Linked DNA regions of Homo sapiens: all the other regions are linked to region 1. Evidence: promoter capture Hi-C in human tissues and cell types (Jung and others, 2019). All regions are on one chromosome and are shown on one strand. Each heading gives the region's core, a stretch centred on a gene start or on the middle of the fragment in contact. The rest is flanking DNA. Distances are from core to core; before and after follow the strand shown.

The links. Contacts are between HindIII fragments. The study calls those that stand out against the background at their distance.
Region 2: a contact is called between the fragment with the promoter of KAT6B here and the fragment with the promoter of SEC24C in region 1, in 1 of the 25 tissues and cell types used here (spleen).
Region 3: a contact is called between the fragment with the promoter of MICU1 here and the fragment with the promoter of SEC24C in region 1, in 1 of the 25 tissues and cell types used here (aorta).

Annotation. Positions count from the first base shown.
Region 1 is chr10:73,743,041-73,745,740 of GRCh38, forward strand. SEC24C (SEC24 homolog C, COPII component) reads left to right here and starts at 1,332. Exons shown (of 23, transcript NM_198597.3): 1 at 1,332-1,397. LOC124902453 (a long non-coding RNA gene) reads right to left here and starts at 1,225. Exons shown (of 2, transcript XR_007062195.1): 1 at 1,177-1,225; 2 at 1-171. RefSeq lists enhancers at 674-1,873, 713-1,280, 951-1,380, 1,281-1,847. The HindIII fragment of the contact is 12,749 bases long and covers 1-2,700 here.
Region 2 is chr10:74,825,274-74,827,973 of GRCh38, forward strand. KAT6B (lysine acetyltransferase 6B) reads left to right here and starts at 1,327. Exons shown (of 18, transcript NM_012330.4): 1 at 1,327-1,512. RefSeq lists enhancers at 1-405, 406-1,177 and silencers at 13-182, 293-392, 503-702, 1,393-1,792. The HindIII fragment of the contact is 20,011 bases long and covers 1-2,700 here.
Region 3 is chr10:72,624,678-72,627,377 of GRCh38, forward strand. It overlaps MICU1 (mitochondrial calcium uptake 1), which reads right to left and starts at 1,402. Exons shown (of 12, transcript NM_001195518.2): 1 at 1,333-1,402. RefSeq lists enhancers at 1,169-1,706, 1,257-1,406. The HindIII fragment of the contact is 10,311 bases long and covers 1-2,700 here.

The DNA of each region.
Region 1 (2,700 bases), core at 82-2,581:
TGGCGAGTAGGAGCTTGGGAAGCGGGGAGTGCTGATTGGTCAGGTTGAAGACGGAATCACAGGGAGTCAAAGTGAGGTTTTCTTGCTGTTTTCTGTTCCTGGGTGGAATGGCAGAACTGATTGAGCCAGGTTACTGGTCTAGGTAGTCAGCTGATCCAATGAGTGCAGGGTCTGCAAAACATCTCAAGCACTAATCTTAGGTTTTACAATAGTTATGTTATTCCTAAAAGCAATTTGGGGAGGTTCAGACTCTTGGAGCGAGAGGCTGCATGTCCCCTAAACTGTAATTTGTAATCTTGTAGCTAATTTGTTAGTCCTGTAAAGACAGACTGGTCCCCAGGCAAGAAGGGGGTCTTTTCGGGAAGGGGCTATTATCAATTTTGTTTCAAACCATAAACTGAATTCCTCCCCAAAGTTAGTTCCACCTACACCCAGGAATGAATAAGGACAGCTTAAAGGTTAGAAGCAAGATGGAGTCGGTTAAGTCTGATTTCTTCCACTATCATAATTTCCTCAGTTGTAATTTTGCAAAGGCAGTTTCAACAGCAGTGCTCGAAAAATTATGAAATCAACAAATAGTACTGAAAAGTTCAAATGAAGTCATATATGAAAAAGAAATCCTAGCACTGTTAGCTATAATTACTTAGCCATTAAATGGGGTACTAATAATTACTGCAGGAACTATCTTTTCCAACAGAGCGCAGAGATCTTTTGGCTCTGATAAAGCTCTGCACCTAAACAAAGGCGCTGTATAAAAATGGTTAATAACAATTGACCTTTACTGAGTGCTTACTATGATGCCAAGCGGCCTATGTGGCCTAATTTCATCCTCTGGGCATTATTATTTCCATTTTACAAGCTGTAGAGCCAGACCTCAGACCCCCACATGCAGGTTGACAACAGTTGGTGCCCTTTACCACCACCACACGTTCCGCAAATCTCATAACCAGCAAACGCCATGGGTGAGAGCAACCTAGCGGACGGAAATCAACGGGGTCAGGGGTCACCAGGAAGTGACTACAAGACTCTAGCTCAGAGGTCACTAATACGTCACAGGCAGAGTGAAGGGGCATTATTAAAGATAGTTTGACAAATTCTTTTTAATCTCATTTCTGTTGGTGAGGCCATAAAGTGACTGGAACATCTGAAAAAAAATGTCAGGAGGGAAATACATACGACTCAGCAGAGGCGCACAGGCGGCGGCCATGATGGGAAGATGAAAGAGGCGCATGCGCGGCATCCGGGTCCCCGAAATGCAGACGTGGCAGAAGAAGTGGCCCGGCCCTAAAGCGTGGAGGAGGAACTTCCGGGGGTGACGGGACGGCCCCCTCGGAACCGGAAGTGGAGCCTGGGAGCCTTGACGTTAGGAACGAAGTCTAACCTGGATCTGGAGCCGGGTGAGGAGTGGCATCGGGAGGTTGGCGGGTAGGAAAGCAAAGGAGAGGTCAGGGTATTACTGGCCAGATTGGGGTCCGGTTTCAGAAAGAAGGGAGGAGCCTGGGGGCGGGGCCTGGGTAGAGACCCTCACCTCACGCATCCACCATCCAGGAGCAGGTCCTAGACCATCCCTTCGTCTCCCGGCCCAGATTCCGGCTCCTGCTTCCTGCCCCGAGCCTGTTAAAAGGTGCAAGACGTTTGGTCTCTGTGCTTAACAGAGCAGCCCCCTCTCTTAACGTGGCCCTAGAAGCCGACTTGGCTTCTCGGTTTTGATCCTCGGCTCTCCGAGGCTCCATGGCTTGACTACTTTCAGAGTTCTAGGAAGCTTGCCCCGCCCCCTTGGGTTGTCACCCTCGACTATCCACCCAGAATGGAGTCGAGACTTCAGTCTGACTCCAAGCTCTTGAATGTGTTTGAGGGGATTATTTTCTGGAGAAGAAGCTCCTTTCTTTACCCCTCCCCCCGGCTTTGGAAACATAAAGGGAGAGGACATATTTTAAACTTAGTGTCAGTGACCTACCTCTGTAAGGTTTAGGGTTTGGAAGAACAGCTATTGAGATAACTTTGAGTTTAAAGAGTTTTAGACCAGGATCAGCTCCTTTTCTATAGTCAAGGTGGCCCTTCTAGCAAAGGGGGAGAGGTCCATTGTTCCCTTTGCAGCAACTCTGAGTGCTCCTGCTTTCTGGGCCCCTTCTGTCTACAGGATAATTGGAATGATACAGCTGTTGAAAGTAGATGTGATGAGATAGTTTTCTTGGAAGGACCCTGTTTAGAAAAGGCCCTCTAATTCATCCCTGTGTTGATGAGCAAGATTGTAATAATTTTGATGGTGGCTGAGATTCATAACAATCGTAAGGGGAGCAGAAACAGGAGAGTTGGAGAAGTGCATTGGAATTTAGAATATTCATAGTCTTCTGCTTGAGGGATGAGGTGAATGATTTTTTTCCATGAAATCTAACTCTAACTTTGCCCCTGATTCTTGAACTGTTTCCTCAGATTATGTGAAGAAGTTTTGGTGCCTGTTCTGCACTTGGTTTTAATCTGTTACCTTGCTAGAGTTTTCAGGTGTCCTTTATTTTTTATTTTTTTGAAAGGGCGTCTTGCTCTATTGCTCAGGCTGGAGTGCAGTGGCACGATCTCGGCTTATTGCAATCTCCGCCTCCCGGGTTCAAGCGATTTCTCCTGCCTCAGCCTCCCAAGTAGCTGGGATTACAGGCGTGTGCCACCATGCCCGGCTAGTTTTTGTATTTTTAGTAGAGACTG
Region 2 (2,700 bases), core at 77-2,576, 1.1 Mb after region 1:
GGCCCAGGCGTCCCCATCCTCCCGCGGACACCAGCGTCTCCGCCCTCCCCCGAGGGCGGCGAGAGGAGCCCCCCGGGGCGGAGGCAGGTACCCCCGGGGCGGAGACTGGGGCGGGCGGGGTCCGGGCTGCGCCCCCGGCCAGGCCGGGCGGGCTGGCGGGCGGCGCGGGGGGAGCGGGGCTGGGCGGCGCTGCCTCGGGCTCTGTGCGCTGCAGCCCGGAGCCGAGGAGGAGGAGGCGGAGGAGGAGAAGGAGGCGGCGGCGGTGGGTCCCGGGCGGGGGGAGCGCGGCGCTGCGGACCCGGGCGGCTGGCAAAGGACGAGGCGGAGGCTGAGGAAGGCAGCGGGGAGACCCAGGCTGCAGCAACAAAGGGCAGCGAGCGATTGGCCGGGCTGCAGGCGAGGTTAGCCGGGGACCCGGGTGGCCGGAGGCAGCGGCGAGCGGTGCACGTGCTTGCAGACACGGGCGAGTGTGGAGCCGGGGGGTGCACGCCCGGTGGGTAGGGGCTTGCTCCCCCGAGGCATGGGATGGCGAGGAGGCTGCAGCGACATCGTTCTGCCTGCACCCGGCCTGGGGCTGGCAGGGTAGGGGTGTGTTGGGGGGGGAAGGATGCGAGCCAGGGGGCGGGCGAGTAGTCGCCCGGGACGGGACGGGACGGGAGAGAGGGTGGAGGAGGGGGCGGGATGGAACGCTCCGGGCGGCGCGCCCGTCCGCACACTCCACCGAAGGAGCTGGCGACTGAGAACCTCGAATTTTAACTTCGCGTGCCCGCCCGCGCGCGCCCGCCCGCGCCCACCCCTAAATCCTGCGGCCGCCGCCAGCGATCAGCTCTCACACAAACTTTAGCTGCGGGCTAGGGGGTTTGGGGTTGAGTGGGGGAGGGGAGAGGGAAAAGGCCTCCTGATTGGCGTCGTCTGCAGCCAATAAGGCTACGCTCCTCTGCTGCGAGTAGACCCAATCCTTTCCTAGAGGTGGAGGGGGCGGGTAGGTGGAAGTAGAGGTGGCGCGGTATCTAGGAGAGAGAAAAAGGGCTGGACCAATAGGTGCCCGGAAGAGGCGGACCCAGCGGTCTGTTGATTGGTATTGGCAGTGGACCCTCCCCCGGGGTGGTGCCGGAGGGGGGGATGATGGGTCGAGGGGTGTGTTTATGTGGAAGCGAGATGACCGGCAGGAACCTGCCCCAATGGGCTGCAGAGTGGTTAGTGAGTGGGTGACAGACAGACCCGTAGGCCAACGGGTGGCCTTAAGTGTCTTTGGTCTCCTCCAATGGAGCAGCGGCGGGGCGGGACCGCGACTCGGGTTTAATGAGACTCCATTGGGCTGTAATCAGTGTCATGTCGGATTCATGTCAACGACAACAACAGGGGGACACAAAATGGCGGCGGCTTAGCTCCTACCCCTGGCGGCGGCGGCAGCGGTGGCGGAGGCGACGGCACCTCCTCCAGGCGGCAGCCGCAGTTTCTCAGGCAGCGGCAGCGCCCCCGGCAGGCGCGGTGGCGGTGGCGCGCAGCCAGGTCTGTCACCCACCCCGCGCGTTCCCAGGGGGAGGAGACTGGGCGGGAGGGGGGAACAGACGGGGGGGGATTCAGGGGCTTGCGACGCCCCTCCCACAGGCCTCTGCGCGAGGGTCACCGCGGGGCCGCTCGGGGTCAGGCTGCCCCTGAGCGTGACGGTAGGGGGCGGGGGAAAGGGGAGGAGGGACAGGCCCCGCCCCTCGGCAGGGCTCTAGGGCAAGGGGGCGGGGCTCGAGGGCGGAGGGGGGCGGGGCGGGATCGGGTGGGGGCGGGGTTCGGGGAGTCGGAAGGCGGGGGCTGAGAGGGAATTTCTGAGTGGGAGTGAACTGGTAGGAGCGGTGGGGGGCCGGCGAGGGTGTGAGGAAGACTAGTGAGGGTTGGGTGGGAGGAGAAGCTGAAGGTGTAGAAGCAGGTGCAGAGGGAGAGTTAGGGAGGGATGCAATTTGAGAGAAGTGGAAGGCGGACCGAGGGGTGTGTGAGGGCAGGTGAGATGATACCGAAGGCGAGATTGCAGTTGTCTGGGCGCAGAGTAGGTGGGTTTGGGTGTGGTGGATGTGGAGTAGAGTTGAAGCGGTGCAGAGTGTTGGGTTTGGGGAGGCGTTGAGGGGTTTGGGGAGGCATTGAGGCGCATGTGAGGAGCAGGTACGATTGCAGTGATGGGAAAGAGGTATCTGGGTGGATCGCATGTTGGAATAAGAAGGAGGTTTGCTAGCTTTGGGGTATGAAGTATTTTTTAAAAACGTGGAAGGATGGGATGGTTGTGCTTGGGAGAGTTTCTGAAAGATGATGCTAAGACAGCAGAGCAAACTTAAATATGAAGGAAGGGGAGAGAGGCTGCTTAGAACTTGCAAAATCTGTGGCAGAAAATCTCCTGGGGACAAGGGATTGGTAGGGGTGGGACAAGGCGGCAGGTGTGAAGAAAGTGGGTGGAGCTGTACAGTAATTTTCGGTGAATGTGATTTGGTGGACTGTGCCAGGGGTGAGGATGGGGCAGAGAAAGGTGTTAGTTTGGGAGACAAGTTGTTTGATAGGCTGTATTTATTATTTTTTATAAAAATGAGAAAAGGGTCTCACTATGTTGCCCAGGCTGGTCTCGAACTCCTGGCCTCAAGTGATCTGCCCACCTCTGCCTGACTGATGGGATTACAGACGTGAGCTATGGCGACCCGTGATACGCTGGATTCATTA
Region 3 (2,700 bases), core at 152-2,651, 1.1 Mb before region 1:
TAATATTATGTTTTATGGCTCTCAGTAAGGACACTCAGAAGATGTCAGAGACACTTGCTTGATATATTAGGTAGCCAGAGTGATGTTCTTAAGTGGAAGAGACAATCAGGGACAAACCAAGGATTGGGACAAAGAGTAGCTGGAGGCAAAAGCCACCTTCCTACAGACAAGTGGCAATGGGTTCTAAAGTTTTTAGGATAAGGCAATATTCAAAAAGCTCATTACCTGGTCCACACCAGAAACACAGTAGGTGGGTCATTCTGGCCAACACCTTTGTCTCAAGATACTGACGTTTATTATTTGTCATATGGTCCAATGAAACCTAAACTCTCCTACAGCTATCCACACCGAACTTGTTTCACCTCATGAAATGCAAACTCCTTTCTTATACTGCTCGATCACTTCCCTACGTGCCCCAAAGGGATGTTCTAATATAAACAAAGGCATATCAAAGAAGCCACCCAAACAAGTGAGATAGAAACATTTATTGATAAATAGGAAGAAAATGGGCGTTTCTAAGGTACCACAGGAAAAATAAAATATTTTACTCTAGTCCCTTAGCTATAAGATATTTATTCTACTTATATTTACTAATGGCCACCGTATTTTTTAAGACATGGAAAATTGGAAGGTAAAGAAACCATCAACCATAAGATTACAGAGAAGGCAACTTGAAGAACAGTTTGTTTTAAACTGTTCTCCCAACATTCACATAGAGTCAATAACATCTAGCTCTTTCTCAAAACAGCCTATGGCCGGCCAGAATGCGACGGTGAAAACAAAACAGGGAGAACGTAATGAAAACGGGAAGGCGCTGGAAAAGATAAAAACTGAACAGTCCGAGTAGCCTGCACTTTGTATTTCTCCTTTGAGTCCTCACTGATTTTCCACTTATTTCGATTCAGTGGTTAATATTTCTCCGTATTAGAAATCCATCTGTGAACTCCCGCACCCACTTCTAACCACATCCACAAATTCCAGGAGAGCCAGTCAAGGCTACCAGAGTGTCCCAGTCGCCTGTGAGGAGGGGGGCGTCGGCGCCAAGTTGCGAACCCGGCACTGGGAGAAGTTCTCCCGGGACGGGAGAAGGGACGGGTTGGGGTGAAGGAAAGTGGAGGACGGGAGGCAAGCAAGACTACGGACTCCTCTCCAAAAGCTGAGCGCATCAGGGAGAGACAGGTATCCCGCCAGACCCGAGAAGTAGCCGGATGCCCGGGGCGGACAAACGGCCAGCCACGAAGCCCAGTTCCCTAAGGCTGTCTCGCCAACCCCCTTCCCCTTCGCCTTCCCTAAATTGCTGTCTCCTTATACCCTCCAGAGTCCAAGACTCACGCGTCCAAACACGAGCTCCAGCAGCCTCTCGGTCAAAGCCGCCCACCTCTGACAGCCATAGAGATGAAACAGCGGAGACAAACCTCCACCCCCTCCGCCCACTCTCACGTGACTCTCCTAGCCGCTGGGCCTGTCGGGATCGTGGAGACAGGCGTGTGGGAGGGGCACAGAGGAAAAGGAACGGGGAGGGGCGGGGAAATCAACGCGCCACGCCCCAGCCTCGGGCCCCGCCCTAGCCCCGTCACTCCCCCTTACTCCCCTCAGCGTTTAGGCGGGAAAGCTGGAGAGCTCCCAGAAGCTCTCGGGCATTTCTTCTGGTTTTTTTCCCCTCCACAAGGGTCATAGGAATCTGTTGAGAAATTTACTGTGGCTTGTAACACCTCCTCGGTACCCGTTTTCGTGTTGGCTATGTTGGCTAAGCAAAAAGGAGTTCGTGAAAAGAAAACTGGACCACAGTGAGTTGGAAATTGTTTCTTTCCAACTCCGTTTAGGTTTTCTCAGAGATTAAATGTTCCTGTTTCATAACCTTGAGACTTTTTTGGATTTAGAAACCCTCACCACTTCCTCTGGTGGATGATTTTGTCAGGTGTTTTATTTGCAGACTAATATTATTGCAGAGTTTATAATCTCTAGAAGCCACTTAAAAACATGTTTTCCCTTGAAGAATGTGTTTTTTGTTTGTTTGTTTGTTTGTTTGTTTTGAGATAGAGTTTCACTCTTGATGCCCAGGCTGGAGTGCAGTGGAGCGATCTCGGCTCTCTGCAATCTCTGCCTCCTGGGTTCAAGCGATTCTCCTGCCTCAGCCTCCCAAGTAGCTGGGATTACAGGCATGCGCCACCACGCCCTACTAATTTGTATTTTTGGTAGAGACGGGGTTTTTCCATGTTGGTCAGGCTGGTCTGGAACGCCCGACCTCAGGTGATCCGCCCACCTCGGCCTCCCAAAGTGCGAGGATTACAGGCGTGAGCCACTGCGCCCGGCTGAAGAAGGTGTTTTTATCAGAAAAATGGGATGGCAAAGGATCCTCACCCCTGCTGTGGAAATAGGATGGAAATATGACTATAATACCAGAGAATTTTTTTGGGGGGGGGGCAGCGGGGTGTTGGTTGGTTGTTTGTTCGTTTGTTTTGAGACGGAGTCTCGCACTGTCGCCCAGGTTGGAGTGCAGTGATGCTCACTGCAACATCCTCCTCCCAGGTTCAAGTGATTCTTCTGCCTCAGCCTCCCGAGTAGCTGAGATTACAGGCACGCCCCACCACGCCCGGCTAATTTTTGTATTTTTAGTACAGACGGGGTTTCGCCATGTTGGGCAGGCTAGTCTCAAACTCCTGACCTCGGGCGATCCTCCCGTCTCGGCTTCCCAAAGTG